2 separate regions of the Homo sapiens genome follow, and region 2 is linked to region 1. The links are contacts of gene promoters, found by promoter capture Hi-C in blood cells and fetal thymus (Javierre and others, 2016). All regions are on one chromosome and are shown on one strand. Each heading gives the region's core, a stretch centred on a gene start or on the middle of the fragment in contact. The rest is flanking DNA. Distances are from core to core; before and after follow the strand shown.

Region 1 (2,700 bases), core at 4-2,503:
TGTACTTTGTGTTACATGACATATCATGAATAAATACCAGTCAAAAATCAAATTATTTGGATACTTAAATGATGATGAGGCCTGCTGTGCCAACAGGTATGCTAATGAGTAGACATCTCCCAGCCTCAAGACTGAGTGAATGAGGCAAATATTTTCACCTCCCAATCTTTTAGGGTGTTCAATTAACTCAAGTATTTAAGAAGTTCCCTACTATTGGGAAGGAAGTAGATGTAATCATCTATATGCTTATTTTGTCAACTGAGTTGGAAAAACTTGCAAAGGAACAGTTTGGATATATGTATTAGATTTTTATCAAAATACAAATAAATGGTCATAGATGACAATTTTCACCTAAGGAATACAAGTAAGTTTATCTATGTTCAGTTACCAATCGCCTCTAACTAAAGTTAACAATGTCTTCCTTCTAAAACCTTTCTAAAGAGCACCCTGCAATCACACCTTCTAGCAACAGCCATTTCTCTTGAATTAGTAAGGTGGCTACACCGCCAATTTGAGCTGTTCTCCTTCAGTCCTGTAGTCCATCGCCAGGGGAGTCTCCAAATGCTAATAAAAATCAATTTCCCAGACAAAAGAACATATACACGTTTTTTTCTTTCTTTCTTTCTTTTTTTTTTTTTTTTAGAAGAGGGTCAGGGAGCATCTGACGGACGTTTTTAAAGGAAGGGGACAGCTACTTCCATGGGACTGCATTTTAGTTGTGCTAAAAGTGATGAAAGTGGGTTTGCATTATTCTACCACCAACACCCAAACCACCTGCCCACGGAAACCCCCGCCGGAGACCGAAGTTTACCCAAATAGCGCTCGGCAAAGCGCTGCCATAAATTCAAAACTAACTCTGCCGGGCCCGCGGGGGTTGCGAGACAGGGACCGAACGTGAAACCCGGGGAGCCCCGCGTCTCTTGCCTCCGAAGGTTTTCCGTGATCAGTGTCCCCTTCTCTGCTGGAGTCGGAAGTGCCTGTCACCTGCGGATCTGCCCGACTCTCCCGGTCGGCCCTTCTTCTCTGCCCAGTTCGGACAGTCTCGAATTCCCCGTCGCAGCCCCGGCCACCTCGGACTCCCTGGTCCCCAGCCCCCGCCCCACCCCCCGCCTCCACCACGTCCCCTCCCCGCGGTCCCAGCCTCTCCAGGCGCTGCTGGGCTCTGATTGGCGGCTGCGCTGACAGCAGGCGGGGCCTGGAAGTCGCGGCCAAGCCCGCCCTCGCGTATAAGCCCCTCTCAGCGCTCTCTCTCCATCTCTCCCCTCTCTTTCTCTCTCGCTGCTCCCTTCCTCCCTGTAACTGAACAGTGAAAATTCACATTGTGGATCCGCTAACAGGCACAGATGTCATGTGAAAACGCACATGCTCTGCCATCCACACCGCCTTTCTTTCTTTTCTTTCTGTTTCCTTTTTTCCCCCTTGTTCCTTCTCCCTCTTCTTTGTAACTAACAAAACCACCACCAACTCCTCCTCCTGCTGCTGCCCTTCCTCCTCCTCCTCAGTCCAAGTGATCACAAAAGAAATCTTCTGAGCCGGAGGCGGTGGCATTTTTTAAAAAGCAAGCACATTGGAGAGAAAGAAAAAGAAAAACAAAACCAAAACAAAACCCAGGCACCAGACAGCCAGAACATTTTTTTTTCACCCTTCCTGAAAACAAACAAACAAACAAACAATCATCAAAACAGTCACCACCAACATCAAAACTGTTAACATAGCGGCGGCGGCGGCAAACGTCACCCTGCAGCCACGGCGTCCGCCTAAAGGGATGGTTTTCTCGGCAGAGCAGCTCTTCGCCGACCACCTTCTTCACTCGTGCTGAGCGGGATTTTTGGGCTCTCCGGGGTTCGGGCTGGGAGCAGCTTCATGACTACGCGGAGCGGGAGAGCGGCCACACCATGCGAGGTAAGCGAGTCTGCGGGCACCGAGGCTCCCCGAGTCCGGCCAACTCCAGCCAGACGGGGAGATGGGGGAGGGGAGGGCACCCAGCAGAAAGGGAAAGAGGTTGCCCAGGCGCAGTTCCCCGAATTCGCTCTCGCAGGTGGGGCTGCAAATGGCCTGGGCGTAGAAAGTTGCGGGAAGGTGTTGATGTCTTTCGGGAGTTCTGGAGGGACGCGGGAGGGCGCTTTTTTGGAGAGGGGAGACAGGCTAGTTGGTTCTTACCAGTCCTTGAGTTGCACTGAATCTTTTTTGCTTGTCGCTCTCGGGTGCGGAAGCGGACGCGGGATGGAGAAAGCCGAAAGAGGGATGCCTCTGGACAGGAGCAGTTTGGAAGCGCCCGGCGCGCAGTGGTCGCCGGCCGGGTTTGGGCGCGCGGGGCGCACCGGCCGGGGGCAGGGTGGACACGCGCGGGCACACACTCGCCAGGTTACGAGGCCCACTAAGCGTCCTGGCCAGCAGGCATGTCCCTTCGCTGGAGTAGCAAGCAGAAGAGCAGTGCTGCGAGGCTGGACGCGGCTGAGGAAACAGTTAGTTCCCCGGCACGCGGCTGAGGAAACAGTTCTGCGGCGCGCGCCTTCGTGCCGGCGCTGCGCCCTGGCCAGGTCCTCGTGCCCGAGCCCGCGCGGCCCAGGGAGTAGTGCGACCCCGGAAAAGTTGTAATGAGAAAGTTCTGGAGGCTTGGAAAGGCCACACTGCTCACAGTCGGAGAGTCATGGGCTCCGGCTCTTTTGTCAGATAAAGGGCCGGTAGTGGAAGGAGGTG
Region 2 (2,700 bases), core at 5-2,504, 1.3 Mb before region 1:
TGCTCAGTGGTTGGACTGAGAAGAAGCTCCAAAACACTTCCCAAAGCCAAACTTGCACCAATTAAAAAAAAAAAAAAAAAAAGGTCATGGTCATTGTTTGGTGGTCTGCTGCTAGTCTGATCCACTACAACTTTCTGAATCCCGGCAAAACCATTAAATCTGAGAAGTATGCTCAGCAAATCGATGAGCTGCACAAAACCTGCAACGCCTGCAGCCGGCGTTGGTCAACAGAAAGGGCCCGAGTCTTCTCCATGACAACACCAGGCCACACATCGCACAACCAACACTTCAAAAGTAGAACGAATTGGGCTATCAGGTTTTGCCTTATCTGCCATATTCACCTGACCTCTTGCCAACCGACTACCACTTCTTTAAGCATCTCAACATCTTTTTGAAGGGAAAATACTTCCACAACCAGCAGGATGCAGAAAATGCTTTCCAGAGCTCATCAAATCCCGAAGCACGGATTTTTACACTACAGGAATAAACAAAGTTATTTCTCCTTGGCAAAAATGTGTTGATTGTAATGGTTCCTATATGATTAATAAAGATGTGTTTGAGCCTAGTTATAATAATTTAAAATTCACAGTCCAAAGCTGCAATAACATTTGCACTAACCTAATATATTGTTTTAGTCTGTTCAAGCTGCTATAAGAAAATGCCATGAAGTGAGTGGCCTATCAACCACAGAAAATTATTTCTCATAGTTTTGGAGGCTGAAAAGTCCAAGATCAAGGTGCCAGTATATTTGGTGAGTAAGTGAAGGTCTCCTTTCTGGTTCATCGACGGACCTCTTTTCACTGTAACATAACATGGCAGAAGGGGCAAGGTTAAAAAAATCTTGGGATTTTTTTTTAATATGGCATTAATCCCATTAATTTCCATAATGACAAAGTCCTCATTAGGTAATCACTTCCCAAAGGCCCCTCCTCCTAATATTATCACCTTGGGGGTTAGGATTTCAACATATGAATCCTAGGGGAACACAACATTCTGGCCATGGTGTACATAACTCTTATTAATTGGAAGTACTCCCGGGGGATGTGAATTCCCTGGCATTTCTCACCTGCTTGCAGGTGAGAAACATGGGCCCTTGAAGCCAAGGATAGTTCTCAAAGGAATGCCAGCATGGAAGCTGGAAGTAAGATTGACTTACAATCTCCCACGGAAAGGACATCATGTGAAAGAAAGAAAATATGTTTTATTCATATTTGTGTGTACTATTATATTTTTAAATGGTTACTAAATTGTTAGAAAATAAATACTTTTTCAGTGTTTCATTTAACCACTTAATAAATGAAACTGTAAGCTATTAATTTGGTGTAGGTATCATAGAAATATTATTAAACATTAAGTGTGCTATGAACCAAGAAAGTTCTAATCTAATCCATATGCCTCTTTTTTATGTGTTTGTCCTTGTAGAGAACCTTCTCCATGAGTAATGTCTACGCATTGCATAAGTCTATAAGAGCAGACTTTCCTTCTGCAGTTTAAAGTTATTTGAATTTCAGAAGCAGGAGAAATCTCACATGACTATGCACACCCTGAATTTCTGTATATGATGAATACATATCATATGTTGATGTGCTTTATATTTCTGGTAACAGTATATAATTTTTATGAAAAATGTGACCAAAATTATCCTCATATGCTCTTTGGCCCCTTGATTTTAGAAGAGGTTTCCAATTCTTTCCTCGGTATCTTTGCTCATATTGAACAAGAAAGTAGCTCTGGGTTAAAAACCTTGCTGTTTGTACATTGTCTATTAAATAGCTTATAGACAACTATCTAGCCAGCAATGACAAATGTGTAGGTCATTGTGATATGTGTTTTTGTTGTTGTTGTTTTTGAGACAGAGTCTTGCTCTGTCACCCAGGCTGGAGTGCAGTGGCATGATCTCGGCTCACTGCAATCTACGCCTCCTGGGTTCAAGTGATTCTCCTGCCTCAGTCTCCTGAGTAGCTTGGATTACAGGCATGCACTACCATGCCCAGCTAGTTTTTGTATTTTTAGTAGAGACGGAGTTTCACCGTGTTGGCCAGGCTGGTCTCAAACTCCTGACCTCATGATCCACCCACTTTGGCCTCCCAAAGTGCTGGGATTCCAGGCGTGAGCCACTGCACCCGGCTTGTTTTTAGTCTCATTCATTACTTTGATCTATGATTGAGTTGTGTCTGGCTTTATTTGCCACCTTTTAAATTTTATACACTTTATGTGTTATTGTAAGTCATTTAGAAAACTTTGGGCCAGGCGCGGTAGCTCCACGCCTGTAATTCCAGCACTTTGGGAGGCCAAGCAGGGCAGATCACCTGAGGTCAGGAGTTTGAGACAAGCCTGGCCAACATGGCAAAACCCCGTCTCTACTAAAAATGCAAAAATTAGCCAGTTGTGGTGGTGGGTGCCTGTAATCCCTGCTCCTTGGGAGGCTGAGACACAGAATTGCTTGAACCCTGGAGACAGAGGTTGCAATGAGCTGAGATCATGCCACTGTGCTCTAGCCTGGGCAATGGAGTGAGACTCCATCCATCTCAAAAAAAAAAAAAAAACAAAAAACAACAACAGCAACAACAAAAACAACTTGTGGAATAGGTAAAGAATACATTAAAATGCACAGAGATGAATGATTACTAAGCCAAAAAATGAATATATAACAAGCTAATAAAATATATATCATAATCATAATACAGGCACAACACAATA

Evidence for each region. Contacts are between HindIII fragments. The CHiCAGO score rates a contact against its expected background, and 5 or more counts as called.
Region 2: a fragment that was not itself captured here is called in contact with the fragment with the promoter of RORB in region 1 in 1 of 17 cell types (M1 macrophages); the score reaches 6.7 in M1 macrophages.

Annotation. Positions count from the first base shown.
Region 1 is chr9:74,496,082-74,498,781 of GRCh38, forward strand. RORB (RAR related orphan receptor B) reads left to right here and starts at 1,254. Exons shown (of 10, transcript NM_006914.4): 1 at 1,254-1,902. The coding sequence starts at 1,896. It overlaps RORB-AS1 (RORB antisense RNA 1), which reads right to left and starts at 2,472. Exons shown (of 5, transcript NR_125791.1): 1 at 2,161-2,472. RefSeq lists silencers at 890-1,102, 1,098-1,287, 1,192-1,486. The HindIII fragment of the contact is 5,400 bases long and covers 1-2,700 here.
Region 2 is chr9:73,210,014-73,212,713 of GRCh38, forward strand. No RefSeq gene overlaps it. Among named protein-coding and RNA genes, the nearest start is that of ANXA1, 59 kb to the left of the region's middle. The HindIII fragment of the contact is 8,255 bases long and covers 1-2,700 here.